Linked DNA regions of Homo sapiens: regions 1, 2, 3, 4, 6 and 7 are each linked to region 5. Evidence: promoter capture Hi-C in 16 types of primary human blood cells and fetal thymus (Javierre and others, 2016). All regions are on one chromosome and are shown on one strand. The core of a region is centred on a gene start or on the middle of the fragment in contact, and the rest is flanking DNA. Distances in the headings are between cores, read along the strand shown. Region 1 holds the start of LOC124907852 (a long non-coding RNA gene). Region 2 holds the start of SNORD94 (small nucleolar RNA, C/D box 94). Region 3 overlaps POLR1A (RNA polymerase I subunit A). Region 4 overlaps PTCD3 (pentatricopeptide repeat domain 3). Region 5 holds the start of ST3GAL5 (ST3 beta-galactoside alpha-2,3-sialyltransferase 5). Region 6 overlaps POLR1A (RNA polymerase I subunit A). Region 7 overlaps POLR1A (RNA polymerase I subunit A).

The links. The method cuts DNA at HindIII sites, captures the fragments that hold promoters and counts their contacts. A CHiCAGO score of 5 or more calls a contact.
Region 1: a contact is called between a fragment that was not itself captured here and the fragment with the promoter of ST3GAL5 in region 5, in 2 of 17 cell types (total B cells and monocytes). The highest score is 5.8, in total B cells.
Region 2: a contact is called between a fragment that was not itself captured here and the fragment with the promoter of ST3GAL5 in region 5, in 1 of 17 cell types (M0 macrophages). The highest score is 6.0, in M0 macrophages.
Region 3: a contact is called between a fragment that was not itself captured here and the fragment with the promoter of ST3GAL5 in region 5, in 16 of 17 cell types (fetal thymus, naive CD4 T cells, M0 macrophages and 13 more). The highest score is 25.6, in fetal thymus.
Region 4: a fragment that was not itself captured here is called in contact with the fragment with the promoter of ST3GAL5 in region 5 in 2 of 17 cell types (M0 macrophages and total B cells); the score reaches 6.0 in M0 macrophages.
Region 6: a contact is called between a fragment that was not itself captured here and the fragment with the promoter of ST3GAL5 in region 5, in 16 of 17 cell types (M0 macrophages, naive CD4 T cells, total B cells and 13 more). The highest score is 16.1, in M0 macrophages.
Region 7: a fragment that was not itself captured here is called in contact with the fragment with the promoter of ST3GAL5 in region 5 in 15 of 17 cell types (M0 macrophages, megakaryocytes, fetal thymus and 12 more); the score reaches 22.3 in M0 macrophages.

What each region holds. Positions count from the first base shown.
Region 1 is chr2:86,097,971-86,101,052 of GRCh38, forward strand. It overlaps POLR1A (RNA polymerase I subunit A), which reads right to left. Exons shown (of 34, transcript NM_015425.6): 2 at 1,998-2,202; 3 at 641-790. LOC124907852 (a long non-coding RNA gene) reads left to right here and starts at 1,753. Exons shown (of 2, transcript XR_007087121.1): 1 at 1,753-1,827. The HindIII fragment of the contact is 5,382 bases long and covers 1-3,082 here.
Region 2 is chr2:86,133,308-86,136,634 of GRCh38, forward strand. It overlaps PTCD3 (pentatricopeptide repeat domain 3), which reads left to right. Exons shown (of 24, transcript NM_017952.6): 19 at 39-129; 20 at 985-1,070; 21 at 1,532-1,680; 22 at 3,214-3,255. It overlaps SNORD94 (small nucleolar RNA, C/D box 94), which reads left to right and starts at 2,563; the gene lies at 2,563-2,699. The HindIII fragment of the contact is 191 bases long and covers 1,522-1,712 here.
Region 3 is chr2:86,040,122-86,043,509 of GRCh38, forward strand. POLR1A (RNA polymerase I subunit A) reads right to left here. Exons shown (of 34, transcript NM_015425.6): 23 at 2,853-3,074; 24 at 1,768-1,982; 25 at 271-438. Among named protein-coding and RNA genes, the nearest start is that of POLR1A, 64 kb to the right of the region's middle. The HindIII fragment of the contact is 5,837 bases long and covers 1-3,388 here.
Region 4 is chr2:86,115,098-86,118,382 of GRCh38, forward strand. PTCD3 (pentatricopeptide repeat domain 3) reads left to right here. Exons shown (of 24, transcript NM_017952.6): 5 at 1,433-1,501; 6 at 1,958-2,062. Among named protein-coding and RNA genes, the nearest start is that of PTCD3, 11 kb to the left of the region's middle. The HindIII fragment of the contact is 3,021 bases long and covers 492-3,285 here.
Region 5 is chr2:85,887,694-85,890,712 of GRCh38, forward strand. ST3GAL5 (ST3 beta-galactoside alpha-2,3-sialyltransferase 5) reads right to left here and starts at 1,297. Exons shown (of 7, transcript NM_003896.4): 1 at 1,131-1,297. The coding sequence starts at 1,212. ST3GAL5-AS1 (ST3GAL5 antisense RNA 1) reads left to right here and starts at 1,587. Exons shown (of 3, transcript NR_110569.1): 1 at 1,587-2,110. RefSeq lists enhancers at 9-138, 477-977, 669-748 and silencers at 919-1,038, 1,079-1,698. The HindIII fragment of the contact is 797 bases long and covers 803-1,599 here.
Region 6 is chr2:86,082,107-86,085,275 of GRCh38, forward strand. It overlaps POLR1A (RNA polymerase I subunit A), which reads right to left. Exons shown (of 34, transcript NM_015425.6): 7 at 976-1,062. Among named protein-coding and RNA genes, the nearest start is that of POLR1A, 22 kb to the right of the region's middle. The HindIII fragment of the contact is 2,017 bases long and covers 336-2,352 here.
Region 7 is chr2:86,062,534-86,065,529 of GRCh38, forward strand. It overlaps POLR1A (RNA polymerase I subunit A), which reads right to left. Exons shown (of 34, transcript NM_015425.6): 14 at 2,741-2,932. Among named protein-coding and RNA genes, the nearest start is that of POLR1A, 42 kb to the right of the region's middle. The HindIII fragment of the contact is 7,905 bases long and covers 1-2,996 here.

The sequences.
Region 1 (3,082 bases), core at 355-2,854, 210 kb after region 5:
GTATCACACCATCACTATGTACCCCATAAAATATGTGTAAATATTATGTGTTAATACAAAAAAAGACCAAAAAAACCAAATACAAGAAGTAAACAAAGTAAGCATTACCAATAGGTGAACAACCTGACATATGCCTCCTAAAATGATGCAATACAAAGTACCCTGTATCATGTAGGTTGTATTCTTGCCAAAATGTGAATCTAATTACAAGAAATAATCGGACAATCTAAAATGTAAGAAATCCTATAAGACAACTGGCTTTGAGTCTCCAAAAAAGTTGGTATCATGAAAAAGAATTTTCTACATTACAATGTTCTACTTTAAGACAGATCAAAGAGATGTAACAATCAAAAGCAATGTCTTTTGATTGAATAAACCTTGATTGAATCCTTGGTCCAGAAAATCAGCAAAAGCTCATAAATGGATTAAATGGTATTTCACTATTGTTTCTATGAACATTTCTTTTATTATTCTTATAGCTTCCTGTTTTCACACTCAGCTATTGGTATCCAGTTATAAGATATAAAGATCAAACGTTCTGATGACTATCGGCATGGTAACTAGGACAACATACAAGCATCTCTTGTTCCCCACACCACTTTGCCTTTTCTGATTTCTGTGACCACCACTACCCACCTACCCTGTTCAGAATTCTCTCAAGCTCGTAGACTGCTTGTAGGGCCCCGACTTCCAGAACCCTCAGCTGGCAGAGTAAGAGGTGAATCACGGCCCGGGGACAAGTCAGCATGTGGCAGTTTAAACAAGAGCCCCGAAGCAGCAGGTACAGCTTCTGAAGAGAGGGAATAAAAACAAACAGGATATTAGAAAGAGACACAGTAGCCATGGTGATTTTCGGTATACTCACAAGTTTCTTTATGTAGTCAGTCTATTCCTTTAAAAACTCTACTTCAGCCTACATGCTTAGAAAGGCCTTTGTTATCTTAAGAACCAGATAAATATTACCCTCTATTTTCTTTTAAGGTTTTATTTTAATCCATTTAGATTTGAAATTTACTTTGGGCGTACAACCTGAGGTAGAAAAATATCTTTATTTTATTCCAAGATTTAATTAAGAGACTTCTCAGCCAGGTGCGGTGGCTCATGCCCGTAATCCCAGCATTTTGGGAGGCCAAGGTGGGCAGATCACTTGAGGCCAGTTACTTGAGGCCAGGAGTTTGAGACCAGCCTGGCCAACATGATGAACCTGTCTCCCGTAATTTTTGTAAAAATACAAAAATTAGCTGGGCATGGTGGTGCGTGCCTGTAATCCCAGCTACTAGGGAGGCTGAGGCACAAGAATCACTTGAATCCAGGAGGCAGAGGTTACAGTGAGCCAAGATCGTGCCACTGCACTCCAGCCTGGGAGACGGAATGAGACACTGTCTTAAAAAAAAAAAAAAAAGACACTTCTCTTTAACACGATTAACAGACAAAAATCATGTCCATGTATACCAACATATGTGTAGCTTAAAAAAAAAAATCCTGGAGGTGAGGTTAGCTGAAATAAAAAGCTGAAAATGTACCAGCATGACTCTAAACAGGAGCTTCATTCTGACCTCACTGTTGGGCTTTCTGGGGCTTTGCTTCTCCTGCCACCACACAAGTGCCTATAGAGACACCTGAAGGGCTCAGGGAGACCCTGAGAACACTGAAGTTCTCTCTATTACCAGGCAGGTGCCACTGAGATTTCTGAAGAGCACAAAGCCCCTGCAACAAAAGGTGTAGGGAATGAATCTGAACTCTCCCCGACCCTCCACGCAAACGGAATCAGGCTGTGGCTCTATTCAACTGGAATCAAACTGATATTCATTTATTTAGGGCCACAGGGTAAGTTGAAGTTATTGTATTTGGCTCAAAACTTCAAAATCTCATTCTACAGAATGCTTTCATTGGAGTGCCTGGGGCTTAACCTCCTTAGACCACTCTTGTGGGAGAGAGGCAGCACTCACAAATCCCACCAGCAGCCCGGAGACCCACACAACTAAGGCAGCACTTACATCGAAGAGGAGAGGGTTATACACTGTGAGTGGGAGCTCAATGTGGCCCAGGTGCCCAGAACAGTTGCTGAAGTCCTGCACGCAGGTGGAGCACACCTCTTTGGAATCTGCAGGGCCCAAAGCTAAATCGTACAGGCCGTTTGCCGATGGGTTCCCCAGGCTGTCCAGGTATCGAGGGTTCGTAATGGATTTAACACTTAATTTCCTAAGGGGATAAAAAAGACCAAGAGGAAAGCTAAAGTTACCAACCTCTCTGATGTTTCCTTTCCAGCACAAACCTATAGTTAAGTGATTATTTAATGCCTGCTTGATAGCTCTGGAGGGCACAATCTGTCTTTCTCACTAGTGTACCCCAACACTAAGTGCAGAGTTGGTACCCAATAGTTAATAAATACATATGTGCTAAATGAATAAGTCATAAAATACATATGTGCTAAATGAATGAGTGGTAACTTCTTAAAAACAGATTTAGAACAAAACTTGCACTAAGTACACTGGTAAACTGTTCATAAAAAGGAGTTAAGCATCTACTATACACTGACTGCTTCACAGGCAGCATTATTCTGTCTTTTTTTTTTTTTTTTTAACAAGGTCTCACTCCTGTTGCCCAGGCTAGAGTGTAGTGGTGCAACCTCGACTCACTGCAGCCTCAAACTCCTGGGCTCCAGTGATCCTCCCACCTCAGCCTCCCGAGTAGCTGGGACCACAGATGTGTGTCAATATGCCCAAACAATTTTTCGATTAATATTTTTTTGTAGAGACAGGATTTAGCCATGTTACCCAGGCTGGTCTTGAACTCCTGAGCTCTAGAGATCCGCCTGCCTCAGCCTCCCAAAGTGCTGGGATTACAGGAGTAAGCCACCATGCCTGGCCGCATTATTTAGTCCTGATCTTAATCCTCTGAAATACTCATCACTACATGTACTTTTCAGAGGACGAAACCAAGGCTCAGGGAAGTTAGGTGATTGAATCCAGGTGACACAAATACAAACAGAATGTGGGGGAGGCAGGATATGGAATAGACTTAACTCCAAAGCCCACCCAGTTCAATGAAGGGAATGTGATGCAACAATCCCTGTATGCAG
Region 2 (3,327 bases), core at 367-2,866, 250 kb after region 5:
GCAGATTAATGCTTTAAAAATGTGTTTCTCTTAATCAGGCCTACTTTCCCCACTCCCAAACAATGATACATCTTCTCCAAGCATTGGATGTGGCCAATCGGCTAGAAGTGATTCCTAAAATTTGGAAAGGTCAGTTTTACTTTTTATGTGTCCAGGTGCATCTCACCTCAATATCCTCTACTTTGATAATGAATGTGCTAACATTACTGTTAGGGATGAAAACTTCCATTTTGACTGAACCAAATGTGTTAGTTGAGATGTACTTCAAGGTCATGTGCTCATGTTGCATGTTGGCTATCAGGAGAAAATTTTGTTGAAAATGACTTAAGTCAGTCCCTTCGTGACATAGGAATGAGCTGAGTTTTGTGCACCTGTTGCGGGATATGACCCAAAGAAAATAAATGCTAATGGCGTGGCAGACCCTAAATCTGAATAAAGGTCTTTGACCCGGAAGCCTGTGTAATTCCTCTGTGCCAGTGTTGCCTCACTTCACTAACCACAGTCAGTGATGATTCTGTTTCCAAGTAATAGCCATGAGCATCACGCATCACGGGTGTGTGTGTCTTATGTGTATAACTTGGCTGCAAAATGAAATAGATATTCTGTATCTTTCACTAGGTGACTACTGTATCATAAAGTCAGTAGGCTCTAGTCCCGCCCTCCTGCTTCACACGACTGCTCTAATGAGTGATAAAAGTATATCAAATTCCCAAGTGCTATAAAACAACGTCTTAACCACGTGGAGCTGGTGGCTGCTCCCATGTAGTGCACATGCCGTGATGAACACGTCACTGGAGCAAGGCCCAGGCATTGGCTTTTACATTTGTTCCACTGTGAATCCTGGTGGGTTTCTGGAATCCTGGGATAAGCCTAGAATAAATAACAGCAACTTATTTTTACCTACCAAAAAATAGGTTGACAGTGAACAAAAGTGTGTTGGTTTTACATAACAATGATCACTCCTTGTTCCTTTCTTGTTTCAAGATAGTAAAGAATATGGTCATACTTTCCGCAGTGACCTGAGAGAAGAGATCCTGATGCTCATGGCAAGGGACAAGCACCCACCAGAGGTAGGCCTGAAACTCACCAGCCAGTATATCCTCCCATACTGAGGTCTTCTTAAGGCTAGCTTCCCTGGTTTTATCTGCCATTTTGGAGAGTTCTGCTACCCAAACCCATATTTGAGTGATGATACATCTAAACATATCTTGCCCTTAGCAGAAATCTGTTCTTAAAGTTACCCTCTTTCCTGTAGTCCAAAGCAAGCAACATGAAATTAGCTTCTGTCTTCAGCTTGCTTTTTTAAAAATCTCCATCTACAAAGGAAATGCATAGCTGAATTTGAAAGTTGTGGCTAATCAAAATACTTAGGACAGGGTCCTTTTTTTATTAAATTACTTGTGTGCTATACACATAATATATTCAAATGGTAAAATGCATTGCTCAGATTTTAAGGATCCTGTGTTAGTCTCCTGAACTGAAATTCTCATAAAATCAGTTAGGCAGTTCTGCTGACTCCTAAGCTTCTCAGCTTCAGGTGGCATTTGCTGACTGTGCTGCTGATATCAAATCTGCGTATGAAAGCCAACCCATCAGACAGACTGCTCAGGATTGGCCAGCCACCTCTCTCAACTGTATAGCTATCCTCTTTTTAAGGGCTGGGAGAACTCAGGAAGCCTGGTGAGTACAGTACCACAAGTATACACTTTAGAAGCTTTTGTATTTGAATCTAAAACATTGGCCCACGCTGGTAGAGGTTCTTTCATTTGGCCACATAACACGTATTTGATTCGGGAACTTGCAAATACCAACTAAAAAGCAAACTTTTGGAAGAAGACAGTATGCATGATGTAGTTGAGATAAGGCATAGTTCTCTCAAACCATACGCTGAGAATTATCTTTCTACTTTCTGTGTCTATGGACAAGTAAGTCACTTAACCTCATTATTCCACTTAAATGAACTAAAGATCAAAGAAATATATGATCAAAGAAACGTAGTTTTGAAAATGGTTTGGTCATTTGGGTTATTGAAGTATTTTTGGATGCTTCTCCCATCCCACTCTCCAGCTTAAAATGTGGGCTGTGTACTTAGACTTCTGGAAGCTGGCATTTACGCACATTAACTAAACTTGGCCTTGACCACAACCCGTCCTTGATTGGTGCCACTGTGTTCTGGTTATGTTTTTATCAGCACTTCATTCACATACTAATTTTTAGTGTTTGTGAATGGGAACCTTATGCATATTCATGTTTCCAAAAATGAGCAAAAGGATCTTTTGTAGGGGTAGTGACAGGTGGTTTTCCTGTATTTTGTTTTGTATATAAATGTGTGTTCTAAAAGTCATTAGTGGGGGGTGCTTGTGCATGGCTCCTTGTACAAGAAAGTAGCTTTATTTGAACATCTGATTGCTAGTCAGCTATCTCCAGGAAAAGATGATGAAGGCTTGTCTTTGAGGTGTGGCTCACACGTGTCTCTCTAGCAACTATGCTGCTAGTGACAGAGACGTATGACATTTGCATTTGGTTGTTAGCGCAGGCAGTTTGGCACACACTTGATACAACCAGGCTGTGATGATTGGCGCAGGGGTACGGACCTCAGCTGAGTCATGGGAGCTGAATGTATGTGTTTCTCCTTTGTCCTGCATGTGGCAGGCTGATGGGGAGCACTTACATGAGACTGTTGCCTCAATCTGAGCCTGCACTTCATAACAGAATTCTAAGACAGACTGAACCCCTGCTGTACTTTAAGAGAGGGAAACAGCAGGTTCTGTTCTATGCCTCTTTTCCAGCTGTGCACAGGATGGATTCCCTCCTTAGAAGGACAGTGGTGATCCTCTACAAGAGGACAAATACAGTTGGAGTATCCCTTTTCCAAAATGCTTAAGACCAGAAGTGTATGGGGTTTTAGATTTTGGAGCATTTTTGGATTAGGAATATTCAACCTGTACCAGCAAATCTTGACATTGGCAGCATATCAGATTTACCTGTGAAAACTGCAGTGTAGATTCGTTTGGGGAGTTTAAGCACCTGCGGTGATTCTCATGTACACACAGGGCTGGGAGCTAGTAGAGCCCACAGATGTGTGTCTTTGGGAGCTTACAGTATAGTTAAGAAAAGGGCATTTAGTCTCTGATTTCAGAGAGAAGACAGCTATAGTGTCTGATTGCCTTGTTTTTCTAATAGTATTCATAATCTTTTTCCTTTCTTGAGCAGGAAAATGTTGGGGCTTTTCAGGAAGCATAATAAGATTCCTAGGTAAGTTGAAATCAGCCAGCTCTCTTTGGGTACAGCCTGGAAGTAGCCACATTTGGAATTTCTTCACCAGCC
Region 3 (3,388 bases), core at 706-3,205, 150 kb after region 5:
GCAGTGTGCAGTCTCACAGGCATCCCCAGGAACGTGGATGCAGGAGTTGGCAGAGGAATAAATGGAGATCCTACCAGGCCTGGGCACCAAAGAAACCAGCTGGGCTCTGGAAATTCTAACCCTGATCCCCACTTTAATGAGACCCTGTCCCTCTCTCACACAGACACACTCTCTCATTCACACACACTCACTCACCCCCTCTCATTAAATGGCCCCTTCTCCAGGAGAGGCTAGGACAGACCCCACCCTGTGCTCCCTTGTGCCCCACACCTTGGAATGCCCAGGGTGACGTTCATCTCGCCTCTGCCTGCAAAGTGGAAGGTGTTGAGGGTCATCTGGGTGGAGGGCTCTCCGATGCTCTGGGCAGCCAGCAGGCCCACAGCCTCGCCCGGCTCACACAGTGAGCGCTGCCACTTCAGCTGCAGCAAGGTCCTCAACCTAGAGACGGTGGTGGGGGGTCAGGGTGGGGGTTGTGGCAGGGGTCAGGAGCAGACACCACAGACTGTCAATGCTGCCCGAAACCAGAAAACTGAAACCTCTACCTCTTTCTGGACTCGTTTTTCCTAGGCAAAAGATCCCTCTAATCTTCAAATTCCCACCAGTGACCCTGAGATGTCCTCAAATTACACAGCACAGATCCCAGCTGGGTGGCTGAAGCTCTAGACATTCATGCTTGGACTCCTCATGTTTGCCCCCAGAATGTCACATATCCACTCTGGGACTGTTACCACAAGCCCCCTAAGCAGGAGAATTTCTGGGTTCATTATTCACTTTTTCCTTTATCCATTCTTTCTTCTCAATTATGACAATTTGGAGACAGTTTAAACCTCCTGCTATAAAAATTAGAAAGAGGTTCACTAGGCCATTATGGGGATGGGGGTGATGAGAGTGTTTATATTTTTAGTTAGTGCAAATGGCTGCAGACCACATCAGAAGTATTCATGCCGCACGATTCTGTAATTTACTAACCATTTTTCCTATGAAGCCTGACCCTGTTAAGAACAGCCACTAGGAGCGCTGAGCTACACTGTGTGTGTGTGTGTGTGTGTGTGTGTGTGTGTGTGTGTGTGCGCGCTGAGCTACAGTGTCTGTGTGTGTGTGTGTGTGTGCTGAGCTACAGTGTCTGTGTGTGTGTGTGTGTGTGTGCTGATCTACAGTGTCTGTGTGTGTGTGTGTGTGTCTGTCCTAGTCCAAGCTGAGGCCTTCAAATGGGAACCCAAAGCTCAAAGGTGTGTGTGTGTGTGCGCGCGCGCGCTGAGCTACAGTGTCTGTGTGTGTGTGTGTGTGTGTGTCTGTCCTAGTCCAAGCTGAGGCCTTCAAATGGGAACCCAAAGCTCAAAGGATTACTGGAGTAATCGGATCCAAGGCCTCATGAGAAGTTAAGACCTGGTGTCCCTGGGCATGAATGACCTGCCCTGGGTCACACGGTTGGCAGCAGGTGAACAGTGACCAGATTCCCTGACTCTCAGTCAGCCCCACCCACCACACCAAACCCAAGAGAGCAGACTTTCCTGCAAGCCTCCCAGCAGACCACTATCCCTATCTTGGCCCAGATGGGGGTGTCCACTCCTGCCTCCCTTGCACTTGTTCACTCCTGGGCCCTTGGGGCTTGTGCGTTGCCCCTGGCTGTCTTACTGCCCTCCCTCTAGCTGAAGTCTCAAACCCAGGAGGCAGCCCTCTTCCGGAGTGAGTAGGGCAGGGGCTAGGAGGCAGGGGCTAGGAGGCAGATTCTCCTGCACATGTTGTGCAACAAATCACTGTCAATACCTGTCGAGAGAAAGCTCTGATTTCTCATAACTCTTCTCTGTTTGAGCTGCCCACTCTTGACTGTAGTCATCAACCTTTGTTTCAAATGTTTCTGACACTGATGCAAAGTAGATGTCAGGACGCCAGACAGACAGACTGGGGTCAGGACAAGCGGCCGCCTTCTTCTGGTATTTCCTTCGGCTTTCCTCATCCAACTCATACCACATCCTCAGCATCTGAACAGAAGGATGGGTCTCAGCTATGTGGGAGGGATACCCAGTAGCATAAGAGGGATCAAAAGCATTGGCTTCCAATGAGAATAAAGGGAGACAGAAAGAAACCTGATTGCAATGAGAAACCATCTCCCCATTTAAAATGGGGAGAGACTTCAACCTGTCCTAGGGCACCCTGCTTGACTATAAGCCTAGCAGCTCTTCATCCTGGCCCATTCAAGCCCAGGGAGGGCAAGCATGTAATTTACTGAGCAAACTGGGCTTCTTTTAGAGTGAAACAGGAGACTGTTATGATTAGGCTAGGACAAGAGGCAAAGCCACGACTGTCTCAGGCCAGCTAGGATGCAGTCACTGTGCTGGATCCATGGTTATTTCTGGATCCAGGCTCTTTCACACGCTCTGTGCCCTCAAGGCTGTCCCAAAGTGACTGCTTCAAAGAGATCCCCTGCTTCCAGCTCCCAGGTGTGCTTGGCTGATGGGAGGCACCAGCAGCAGAGGGAAAGGCAGGAGGAAGGGGATCCTGGTATTTATCCTCAACCCCCCTCTAGTGGGTCTCTACCCAGGGCTCTGTCCAGTGGCCCTAGCACATAGTCGTCCTCTCCGTTTCTCATGACTGCTCCCCATTCCTTCACACCTGGGATCGCGGGGAACCCCGAAGTCACAGGCCCCAGTTAGTCCCCCCAAACCCTGCCTACACCCTTGTTAAGAGTCCCCACCTTACATTCCCATTTGAGAGCCATTCTGTTCTGACTGACGGTGAACAAAGCTGGAGTTCATGATTCTACCTTCTCTTAGGAAAACAGCCCCTCATCCCTCACCCACTGACTAAGCCTGGACGTGCTGGACATTAAGGACACCACCTCCCTGCATCACCTCCTGAGTCCCAGGGCTGCGGCCATTGCGGTTTTCACTCTCAAGTTTCAGGGCTTTCACAGCTTCCTGAATTTTCTGGGAATAACTCAAGAAGGCGCCTCTTCTCAGCAGGGTGTTGGGGTGCTTGCTTTGCCATTTTTTGATAGCTCTGAAGTGGTGGAGAGCTTTTTTGGGATCTGCTCTGGATAAAACTTCATGGAGATGCTGTGATTTCATTATCACCTAAACAAACAAACAAAAAAACAAACAAACAAATCACACACATGAGATCAAAGAGATGAGGGCGTGACAAGAGGGCCATGGAGCACAAATTCAGGGGACCCAGGTGGCTGGTGTGGAGCCCTCATGATGGGGCCGAGCACCACTCTCAGAGAGGCTGAGCATCCATTGTTAATCAGGGCCCTCACTTTGTGCAAACCAGATTTGGGAACCAATGGTCTTGGGAGCAGAGGGAGACACAGGAAAGAAAGCAGCACACTCAGAGCCCCTCCAGGAGCACAAGGGAGTTTCTGGGAAGAAAGGAAGAGGGGAAGAGT
Region 4 (3,285 bases), core at 752-3,251, 230 kb after region 5:
TTAGGCACAGTGAACCATTCTTAGCAGTTCTAGGAATGGTGAGAACCCTTCCAATATCCAGGTTCCCAGATGGCAGCCAAGGGCCAGCCTTGGACGCAGACCTTCCTAAGGATAATGGTTTCAGGTCTGTTAACTCTTTTCTGCAAAATATCAAAATTTTAGATGCCTGATATCACTACCAGTCACCTTGGTTATTGTCGTCTTACAAGTCTGGATTAATTGCAGCAGTCTCTGTCGTCTCCCACTGCACCTCCCTGCACACTGCTCTCAGTTCAGCAGCTGTAGTGACCCTGGATCATATCACTCTTAAGAATTCAACATTGGCTTTCCATTAGTATAATTCAAATAAAAACTGAAGTTCACAACAGGGCTGCTAAGGTGAGGCTCAAGGGAAAGGGGTTTTTGAAAGGGGTAGCAGAAAGCTAGGTCCAAAATAAAACACTGCCTCCAGGTTCCAGGTATGAGCAGCTTTCCGTTGAGAGCTGCAGGGAAGCTTCTGTGCCCCCTCCCTGAGGAGTCCAGGTCAGTAAAACAGCATTAAGGATATAGGATAAGTTTTTGCTTTGGAATAAAGGCCCAAGTAAGGCACTCAGACACAGAAGAGAATAAAGAAAGCAATTCTGGGGCATTTCTCAGTGGGGCCCCTGGTGGTATTGGAGAGTTGATTATGCTCAGGTTTAGGGAGCAATTTTAATGGGTAACAGGACGTGGGAGAAGGTTCTGTTGTTCATTCCTCAGAGGGCACGGTGATATCTTCCATTTGGAGGAGGGACTCTTGGTGAAGTTGAGCGTGGGTGGATAGTGACCTTGCTTTGGAGGAAATCCTATTCTGGGATTCTGCTGTTAGGACTAGTTAATTCAGATGATTCTTACCTAGAGTTTAAAACAGTCCCCAGTGGTAGCAAACTTAAATATTAAAATCAGCCATGGGGAGGGAGGCTTAAGCCATTGCTTGCCTTGCATAATTAAAGGCAAGTCTTGTAGAGCTGAGAGTACAGTGCAGGTGTTTGTCTTTTGTCTTTTTTCTCTATATATACATGTATATATGCCCACACACGTTTGCGCATTTAGGTTACATACATAATTACAACTTACGGAATTTTTGTTTATCAAAACTCACAAGGTCCTCTTAAAAATTTAGCTAGAAAGACTTGTGGGCTGGATACAGTGGCTCACGTCTATAATCCTAGCCCTTTGTAAGGCAGAAGTGAGAGAACTGCTTGAGGCCAGGAGTTTGAGACCAGCTTGGGTGACACAGCAAGACACCCTCTCTGCAAAAAATTTTGTGAAATGGCCAGCTGTGGTGGCACACACCTGTAGCCTAGGCTACTTGGGAGGCTGAGGCAGGAGAATCCCTTGAGTCCAGGAGCTAAAAGTTACAGTGAGCTGTCTTCAAAATAAATATAGAAATTGTATTATGTCTTTTCCACAGGATACCACAGCTGTGCCTTATGTGTTTCAAGATGATCCTTACCTTATGCCAGCATCATCTTTGGAATCTGTGAGTATTTTCATATAATTTTCTAGTGTTTTATCTCTCTGGTTTGCGTACAACAGTACATAAATAATTTAGTTGTAATAACCTGGGAAAGGTTTACAAATGCTGAGAAATTGATAGACTATGTGAATCCTTTACTACTTTCTTCAAAAAGATGTACATATCGTCAATGGGGAAAGGATTTTTGGTTTTGGTTTCTAATACTTAGGGCTTTTTCACACTGGAGTGACCCACTCAGTTTAAATGGCTTGCTTTTTATATATTTCAAGCTGTGTATAAGATGCTAACTGAAATTATATCACAGTAGAAAAGGTGGGATAGTCTATAATTTCTAATTGGGATTCTGCGTGTTGTTGCATTTGTTTTTTTTTGTGAGGGGGGAGAAATTCTTGCTGAGAGTGTAACTATAATCTTGCTTGAGTTTAAATTACATGTATTTAAATCTTTTTCTTTATATAGCGTTCATTTTTACTGGCAAAGAAATCCGGGGAGAATGTGGCCAAGTTTATTATTAATTCATACCCCAAATATTTTCAGAAGGACATAGCTGAACCTCATATACCGGTAAGGAGAGGTAGTTACATTATTTACATAATACTATTTTAAATGTAAATTAAACCAGGCTTTCATGGCTAATATTTCAGTAGCTATTTGAATACCCTCAATATTTGGATGATAAGCCTTTTAAAGTGTGGAGTTAGCTTTGATCACAAGACTAACTTTAAAATTCTTTCTGTATTTATTTGCTCTTCATCTTAATATTTTCCCCATTTGATTTTTGTGACACCATGCTCTTAGGTCTTTAATTCTATGACTGAAGTTTCCTTCACTACCTCTCTATACACATCTTTCTCTTCCTTTTTTTTTTTTTTGAAACGGCATCATGCTGTCACCCAGGCTGGAGTGCAATGGTACAATCATAGCTCATTGCAGCCTGGAACCCCTGGGCTCAAGTGATCCTCTTGCCTCAGCCTCACAAGTAGCTTGGACTACAGGGGTGTGCCACCATGCCTGGCTGATTTTTTTTAATTTTTAGTTTTTGTAGAGAACAGGGTCTTGTCTCACTGCACTGCCCAGGCTGGTCTCAAATTTCTGGGCTCAAGCAAACACCCTTCTCAGCCTCTGCAATCTCTGGGATTGCAGGTGTAAGCCACTGCTGCTTGCTCTTGATCCGCTTCTTTTTTTGTTTGTTTTTGTTTGAGATGGAGTCTCACTCTGTTGCCCAGGCTGGAGTGCAGTGGCACGATCTTGGCTCACTGCAGCCTCTGCCGCCCGGGTTCAAGCAATTCTCCTGCCTCAGCCTCCTGAGCAGCTGGGATTACAGGTGCCTGCCACCGCACCTGGCTAATTTTTATAGTTTTAGTAGAGACGGGGTTTTACCATCTTGGCCAGGCTGGTCTTGAACTCCTGACCTCGTGATCCACCCGACTTGGCCTCCCAAAGTCCTGGGATTACAGGTGTGAGCCACCGTGTCCGGCCTTGATCCACTTCTTAAGCATGGGTATCTTTCTTAGATTTTTATGCTCATTTTCTCTTTTTATTGTGTATACTCTTCTGTTTCAGTGACGCTTATAATCCATTTGGTACTCTTTTGTATATCTAGCCTAGATCCCTTTACTTTGAACTCCACATTGTATTTCCAGCTCCCTCTTTGTTCTGTAGTTTTGGAGTGAGGATTTATGCAGTGTGGTGGGTATTGTGCTTAGTGCTTGTCCATACAGTGGTGAGCAAAACAGATGCGCCTCTGCCCTCCTGAGTTTGTTGGTGGAAGTACTAATCTCAGACTC
Region 5 (3,019 bases), core at 47-2,546:
AAGTCTGTGCCCCTTCATGCAGCAGAAATGGATTCCTCTTCCACAGTTTCAGCAGCTGTATCCTTCCGTGGAAAAGGATTAGCAGCCATAAGCCCGGGGGAGGGCAGCTAAACACCAGAGGGCAGGAGATGAGTCTCCTTCCTCTCTGTGACACCCAGCACGGCCCTGCCACGAGGAGCAGGCAACCACTGGTGCCAGATGAAGCGCAGCACATAAAACCATTTTCCCCTTCAAATGAACGATGCCTAATTAAGCAAAAGCCGCATGCATGACTTAAGACATGAGGATATAAAATTCGTCTTCCGAGTCAGCTAGAGATTCTGCAGGATCCTCTACCCTCGTAAACGTATTTTTTTATGATTAGAAAAACCCGGGGCCTGGAAGGGACCTCGGCCATCGGCAGGGTAAGCTTCTCAGGAGAGACCATGAGCCCGAGCCCCACAGGGGGATCAGTGTCTGCCAAGGTCACCAAGCGGGTGTGAGGCAAGGGCAGGGCTCCTCGGGGATGCTCTCGGAAAACCCTGCGTTACTTACACACGCAAGGCGTACAATGAATGCACACCCGCGTCAAGCCACGGCTTACAATTCAGAAGAAATCAAAAGGTCGCCAAAACCTGTCTTCTCCGCAAGGCTGGCTGCAGAGAGGGTGCAGGGAAGGTCACCGGCAAATTTCTACCAGCGGCCCCACATCACGCCTCCCCGATGGATGCAGAGAGAGGTTTCAGGAGCTGCTAGTAACCTTGCAGGGGGTTCCCTAAGCCCATCCCAGGAAAACGAGTTAACTCGGCTCTGCTAACTCCGAAGCTTCCAGCAATGAATTAAATCCCGAGCTGCAGCGGAAAGCGGCGGGGAAAGGGCCACTGCGGCGGGACCCGACACCCGGCGGTCCGCCCCACCCTCTACCGCGTACACACCTGCGTGGGACCCCCCGCCCGGTCCACACGGCCCGGGACCACGACCCTCCGCCCGCGCCCCAGCCGGGCTCGCCTGAGGGTGTCGTGCCCTGGGCGCTGCCCGCGGGGTTCGAGGCGGAAACGCCGCGCCCAGCCGGCCCGGGAAGAGACAAGTCGCCGCCGCAGCCCCCAGCCCGCGGGCCCCCGCGACGCCGAGGAGGGGGCTGCGCCACGTACCTCGGCCGGCAGGTGCCGCCGCTGCCTCGGTCCGCGGCTGCAGGGGACGCCGCTCCGCGCAGCCCGCCGCCTTCGTCCGCATACTAATGAGGGGGCGCCGGCCGGCCGCCAGCCCGGTACCCCGCGCCCCCACCCGCCCCCAGCGCCGCTCTCGCGCCCATTCAGCTGGGGGCCGCCGCTCCCCCGCTCAGATGCGGAGGAGGGGCGCGTGGGCGGGGTCTGACGTCACGAGGACGCGGACGGCCAATCGGAGAGCACGATGCCTCCGCGGCGGCCCCCGCCCCCGGGCGCGCGGCCAGTCAGCCCTGCGGTGCGGTGGGCATTGCCAGAGCAGGGCGCCCCCTGCAGGGACGCACCCGGGGCGGGGGCCAGGCTGGGGCGAGCCCCCCTTGGTTCTGGAGAGGAAATGACATACAGTTTGTGAAAGCATAAATATTCGTGAAAATAAGAAAATTCAGGAAGGAAACAAAGCTTAAGGCAGTGATTGATAGGTTATTTCTTGGACACAGCTGAACGTATACTGTGCGCCTGCAACTTTCCGGTGGTTTCGGACCGGACTTCAGTGAAGCCAGTGAAGTCGGTCGACTTGCAGAACTTCCTTTCAGAGGGGCGTACACAGCACCGCGGCCGTGTGCCTGTGATCTCCTTCTGAGTTTGAAAAAGAAGATCCTAGACACCGAGCCAAATATGTTTGCATAAACCGGGAGACTTGTGGCTCTATTTTGTAACAGCTTGGCGCAGGGCAGCTGGTTTGGAGATGTCTCTGTTCTTCCCTTGGTGGGGGTGCCGGAAAAAATGTGCTGCCTGGGCGATCGAGGTTGGGGCAAAAGCGTTGCAAAGGAAAAGGTGGGAGGACTCTACTTTCACATTTCCCAAAAGAGTTTTACCATAAGACTATTTCTGGATTGTTCTAACGTGAGGATATTGGGAGCATTTTGAAAATACTGGAGGAAAAGCTGTCACTGGGCGATTTAAATCCGGTAAGTTGGCCAAGGCAGAGCAGCTGCTGGGGTCAGCGACAGCTGACCCTTGCAGCTGAGTATCTTGCCCTCTTAATCTTGGAGATCAGCCCAAGGCCCATGTGTTACAGGAAAGGGGTCCCGATCTAGACCCCAAGAGAGGGTTCTTCGATCTCACGCAAGAAACAATTCAGAGTAAGTCCACAGTGCAAAGTAAAAGCAAGTTTATTAAGAAAGTAAAGTGGTGGCTGGGCACAGTGGCTCACGCGTAATCCCAGCACTTTGGGAGGCTGAGACGGACAGATCACCTGATGTCAGGAGTTCAAGACCAGCTGGCCAACATGGCAAAACCCCGTCTCTACTAGAAATACAAATATTGGCCGGGCGTGGTGGCGCAAGCCTGTTGTCTCAGCTACTCACGGGGCTGAGGCAGGAGAATCGCTTGAACCCGGGAGGCAGAGGCTACAGTGAGCCGAGATCGCCACTGCACTCCAGCAGGGCATTCCTGAAAATAAGAGGAGGGACATATCCAACTAAGGTACAATGCTTGTAATGCTTGTATATATGGGCAGATGTCTTCTGCTACAAGGGTTTGTGATAAAGGATTAATTTTCCCTAATTACTATATTTTGCAATAATCAATATTATTATTTTTAAAGCAAAATTAGGAATGCCTTTGTTCTCCAGATATCGGGATATCTGGACTCTCTCAAGTCTGGGTCTGTTTAGTAAGCATTATTAATTTGTTCTCTTAACCATAAACACCTAGAGGCTAGGAATGCCTAGCTTTCAGGAAATGCAGCCTAGCAAGTCCCAGCCTCATTTTTCTAGCCCTCACTCAAAATGGAGGCGCTCTGGTTTGAACACTTCTGACACATGTGCTTGATGCAACACTCTTTACCTCTCTTTGTCTCCCCTGTCCTTCCCCTT
Region 6 (3,169 bases), core at 94-2,593, 190 kb after region 5:
ATTGGAGGCATGAGCCAACGTGCCTGGCCTCATTTTTCTTTATAAAAACAAAAAATAGCCCCTGTGTACATGACAGTTTGTATGCAGGGGATATGATAGCATAAAAATGGGTACTACAGGGACAATAGCTCTTAAACCAGGGACTGAGATGGGCAAGGATGGGGAAGAAACTTCACTTGTTTTTAATCACCCTCCTGGACTATTAAAACACAGACAGCACACACATCATTACTTTGATCTTCATAAAAAATATGTTGAATAAAAAAATTTTTTTTTAAGTTAGCCTCCTCCCACCCCTAACAGTTACTGCCAAGAAAGGATCTTCTGTGGATCAAAGCTTTATTTCAGGTTTCTGGTTACTTTAAAAAATGCCTAGAGAAAAAGATTAAAATGTACTAGGGCCTGCCACAGAAGCAATCATACTAACTCCAGTGCTTTTTTTTTTTTCTGATACCTCTTTAACAACATGTTCATTTGTAAGCGCTTATTACACAGAGGTTATAGTCAGCGTTCCACAACATACTCTCACAAGGGCTTGAATATACTGCGTAGGTTTTGTTATACACTCAAAAGGAAAGAAGGATTTCCCTTATAGTAAAGTCCCAATTTAAATAAGACAGAGTTCATTCTTTGATTCACAGAAGGACAAAGCATTTTACTTACGGGCATTTAAAATAAGTTACACTGAACCTTCTAAAAATATGCCAACCTGTATTAAGTGAGGCCCACCTGCAGTTGTCATTTCATAACCAGGCTCAGCTGCGATAATTGTCAAGTTTTTGGTGCTGGGTATGACCTCTCCTGCTCTATGACTCAATGTCAATGTGCCCTGAAGACTGCCCCAAACCTCTGGATCAGTTCCAGGAGGAAGCTACAATCACTACAACTTAAAAGAAGTAATAAGGCAGGGTTAATGAGTCCAGGAAATAAAAGCCTAGAGAAGATCAAGGCTATTTCTTTAGCCTGATACAGCACCTTCATTCTTCCACAGGGCAGAAAGGTGTTCGCGGGCACTGGTGGGTGTTAAGTATCCTCGTTTTCCTATCTGAGCTTCCTCAATTCCTGGAGCCAAGGAGGAGAATCAAAGTGCAATAAATCAGAAACAGGTACTCTTTCTGCAATGGGATTTATCAATTCTTTATCCCCAAGCCTGCAACTTGACCACAAAAATCAATCTCAAGGGTAGCATATTATCAGGCCTGGATTCCCTCTGGCCCTTAATCTCATTTCTATAGTAATAAAAACCATATGGCTATTGTATAAAACCTAAAAAAAAAAAAAAGCAAAGTAAAAGAAAACATTACCCATAATCCCATCACATTAACAACTCCTATCACTTTTATATATTGTTTTCCAGGCCTTTTTGTCTATACACGTATTTTACACAACTGTAATCTTCAGTGTGGATTTATTTTGCACACTACTTTGCCCTTTTAGTATCATCTCATCAGCATGTCTGCATGTTGCTATGTAGCTTTTGCCTGATCACCATTTTTCATGGCTATGTGATATTCCATTAAGGATGATTCCTAATTCACTTAACCATATTCTCATAATTGGACATCTGGATTGATTTCCATATTTTGCTATTATAAGTAACATTATAATAAATATCTTTATCTACCTGTTTTTTACCAGAAAAGTTCATATAAGTTGAATTATGGATAAATAAGTATTTTTATAGGTAAATATATACTGACTTCTTTTTACAAATATCATACTGGTGTGTGAGGAATAGATTGGGCTTGGTTTCTCACACTAAGCAAGATCACTCTGGGATGCCATCTACCAGCAATACCCAGGTTACATGAGAAAACGAGGCTTGGGACTGCCATTCAGGAGGTAGGGACCAGGCATTTAAGATGATTACCTAAGACAAGTAAGTAGTGTGTCTTTCAGGTTCAAAACTTTCTGGGCACTTTGGGAGGCCAAGGCAGGCAGATCACCTGAGGAGTTTGAGACCAGCCTGGCCAACACAGGGAAACCGTGTCCCTATGAAAAATACAAAAATTAGCCGGGCATGGTGGTGGACGCCTGTAGTCCCACCTACTCGGGAGGCTGAGGCAGGAGAATGGCGTGAACCCAGGAGGCGGAGCTTGCAGTGAGCGGAGATTGTGCCACTGCACTCCAGCCTGGGCAACAGAGCGAGACTCCGTCTCAGAAAAAAAGAAAATACTGGACATGACTGTAATCCCAGCTACTAGGGAGGCTGAGACAGGAGAATCGCTTGAACCTGAGAGGCAGAGGCTGTAGGGAGCCGAGATCGTATCGCTGCACTCCAGCCTGGATGACAAAGTGAGACCCTGTCTCAAAAAAAAAAACACAAAACAAAACAAAACAAAAACCCCAAAAAGCTTTTCTGGATACATCCACTGAAACTAAGCATTACTCAATGTTCCTTTTTTATTCACATATCAGGACAGGCACTATGCCTTGTCTGTGTTCCTAACACTTGACAGGGTGTCTAGCTCACAGCAAATTCTAAGTTAAGAGTATACGGCTCAAATATAAAATAGCCTAAGATAGTCTACACTTAAAAACACCACTCTTGCCTTTTCCTTTTTTTTTTTTTTTTTTTCAAGACGGAGTCTTGCTCGTCACCCAGGCTGGAGTGCAGCGGCACGATCTCAGCTCACTGCAACCTCCGCCTCCCAGGTTCATGCGATTCTCCTACCTCAGCCTCCTCCATTTTTAAAAACTAGCTTCATTCCACCTCCAATTCTCCAGCTAGTTTCTTTAAAATCTGCAGAGGATATGTCATCATAAGTTTTTAGAGAAATCCCTAACTTGGAGAACAATTAACAAATGCACCATAATTTAAGTAGTCTCTGTTAATAGGTATTTAAGTCATGTCCAGTATTTTCTTTTTTTCTGAGACAGAGACTTGCTCTGTCGACCAGGCTGGAGTGCAGTGGCACGATCTTCGCTCACTGCAAGCTCTGCCTCCTGGGTTCACGCCATTCTCCTGCCTCAGCCTCCCGAGTAGCTGGGACTACAGGCATCCACCACCACGCCCAGCTAATTTTTTGTATTTTTAGTAGAGACGGGGTTTCACCGTGTTAGCCAGGATGGTCTGGATCTACTGATCTTGCAATCCGCCCGCCTCAGCCTCCCAAAGCGCTGGGATTACAAGTGTAAGCCACCGTGCCCGGCCCATGTCCAGTTATAC
Region 7 (2,996 bases), core at 189-2,688, 170 kb after region 5:
ATATTAATTTGTGGGATGCTACTTAAGCAGAACTTAAGGGGGAAATTTATACATAAAATGCCTACATTGAAAGAAGAAAAGGGGTCTCAAATTGACTTAAAGAACTTAAAGAACTAGGAAAAAAAAAAGAGCAAATTAAACCAAAGTAAACAGAAGAAAGGGAGTGATAAAGTTCAAATCAACGAAACAGAAAACAGAAAAATAAAGTCAATAAAACCAAAGACTTTTTTTTGAGAATAAAACTGATAAACCTCTAGGCAAACTGATCAGGAAAAAAGAGAAGACACAAATTATCAATGTCAGGAATGAGAGAAGTGACACCACTACAGGCAATACAGATAGAAAAGGTCAACAAAGGAGCATTATGAACAACTTTGTGCCTATAAATTCAGTAACTTAGATGAAATGGACAAATTCCCTGAAAAACACAAACAATTAAAGCTCATTCAAGAAGTAGATAACCAAAAATAGCTCTATGTCTACTAAAGAAATAGAAATTTTAATTGAAAATCTTCCCACAGGTTGGGCGCGGTGGCTCAGGCCTGTAGTCCCAGCACTTTGGGAGGCCAAGGTTGGTGGATCACCTGAGGTTGGGAGTTCGAGCCCAGCCTGACCAACATGGAGAAACCCCATCTCTACTAAAAATACAAAATTAGCCGGGCATGGTGGCGCATGCTTGTAATCCCAGCTACTTGGGAGGCTGAGGCAGGAGAATTGCTTGAATCTGGGAGGTGGAGGTTGCGGTGAGCCAGGATCACACCATTGCATTCCAGCCTGGGCAGCAAGAGCAAAACTCCATCTCAAAAAAAAAAAAAAAAAAAAAAAAAAAGAAAGAAAACCTTGCCACAAAGAAACTCTAGGCCCAGATGCCTTCACTGGTGAATTCTACAACACATTTAAGGAATAAATAATATGAATACTGTACTACACAAACTCTTACAGAAAACCAGAGGAAATACCTCCTAACACCTCATTCTGTGAGGCCAGGATTACCCTGATACCAAAACCAAACAAACATATTATAAGAAAATAAAACTACAGACCAATATCTATCACAAACACAGAAGTAAAAAAATTCTAGACAAAATATTAGCAAATTGAATTCAATAATATATAAAAAGGATAATACCTCACGACCAAGGAAGGTTTATCCAGGAATGCAAGGTTGGCTTAAAAAGGAAAATCAAGTTCCAGGTCCACAGACTAAGAACTGGAGAGCAGGAAGAGACCTTAGAGATCATGAACTTGAAGCTGAAGTCATTGATTTGGGACCCTTTTTCTTCTTTTCAACCTAGGCATTTTATGTATAAATTTCCCCCTTAAGTTCTGCTTCAGTGGCATCCCACAAATTTTGTTGTGTTTTCATTTCATCTACTTCAGAATGCTTTCTAATTTCCCTTTAGATTCTTTTGACCCATGAGCTATTTAAGAAGTACGTTATTTAGAAGTACAAATATTGAGGGCTTTTCCAAATATCTTGGTTGCTGATTTCCAAATTCCATTATGCCCAGAGGCCACATCTTGAATCCTTTTAAAATCCTCTGTACCAAATAAAATTAGGAAATAGGTCCAGGTTTTGCTTCTGTCACGGGTGAGATTTTTTAGTGTGTCTCTAAAGGTTGGTACGGGCTTTTTTTTTGCCAACAGGTGAAAAGGGCAAGAGTGACTACACTATGCAAGAATTTGTTTGTGGGTTAGTCTGGTTTCAAAGAGAAAAACCATGTTTAGAATCAGAACTTAGCTTAGCAAGTTAATTTCTACTGTCCCAGGAAATGATGAGGAACTGAGACACACAGGGCTAAGATCACATAGCCAATTAGAAGTTGATCCTTAAGGCTGAACTTGGATACTCAGGCAACAGCAGAAGAACATATTTTACTGTTTTTCATTATTTGGTCGCCACATATCATGTAATTTGGTTACTTTGAGAGGAAGTATGGTATGATGCTTCTGGGGTTGAAAAGTCCTGGGTTTGATCTGTCTCCTGTAGTCTTGGGCATGTAATTTATCATCTCCTAAATGGAGATAATAATGGTGTCTGCATTGCAGATTAGTCGTGAGTATTAAATCAGATAATGTGTCTAAAGCACTCAGCAAACATATGGAACTTCCCAACAAATATTACTATTACTCCACCAGCACCACTGCCTATTACCACCATATTTGTATTATGAGGACACCAAATTTAAGTTAGAAGCAAAGGACAGAAACTATGCAGTCTACTTTTTTTTTTTTTGTGGAGACGGAGTCTCACTCTGTTGCCCAGGCAGGAGTGCAGTGGCTGATCCTGACTCACTACAACCTCCACCTCCTGGGTTCAAGCGATTCTCTTGCCTCAGGCTGAGGCGATTCTCTTGCCTCAGCCTCCCGGTAGCTGAGATTACAGGCACTAATCCCACGCCCAGCTAATTTTGTACTTTTAGTAGAGATAGGGTTTCACCATGTTAGCCAGGCTGGTCTCAAACTCCAGACCTCAGGTGATCTGCCCGCCTCAGTCTCCTAAAGTGTTGGGATTACAGGTGTGAGCCACTGCACCAGGCTACTATGCAGTCTACTCTTGCTAGACACTCCCTTGAAGCCACCCAGACTCAGGAACCCCAAACAAAGGGGAAAGAAAGTCAGACTATTGCTGGCTTAGCCATTTCTCTGTCTCTGGTCTGGACTCTTCTGAGAATAAAACCTTTTACATGAGTGGCCTATTTCCTTTTGTTACATACACTGGCTGTTCTCTCCCAATTACCTGTTTTCCTGTCCACAGCGGAAAGGGCTTCAGGATGGAAGGAGAAAGGAGCTTCACGCGCCCCACTTTGTCCGTGAGTCCTCGGTACACCAGCTCCATATAGTGCTCCCGGGTGAAAAAGCAACCCCGAGTAGTCATGCTTGCCCCTGAAACCATGTGATCCTGGATCAGTCCCGCCAATGGTTGGCCATCCTATAAGCCAAAACAGACAACACAAGAAGAATGAAAATAAATCTTAAGTCAAACTCTAATCCCT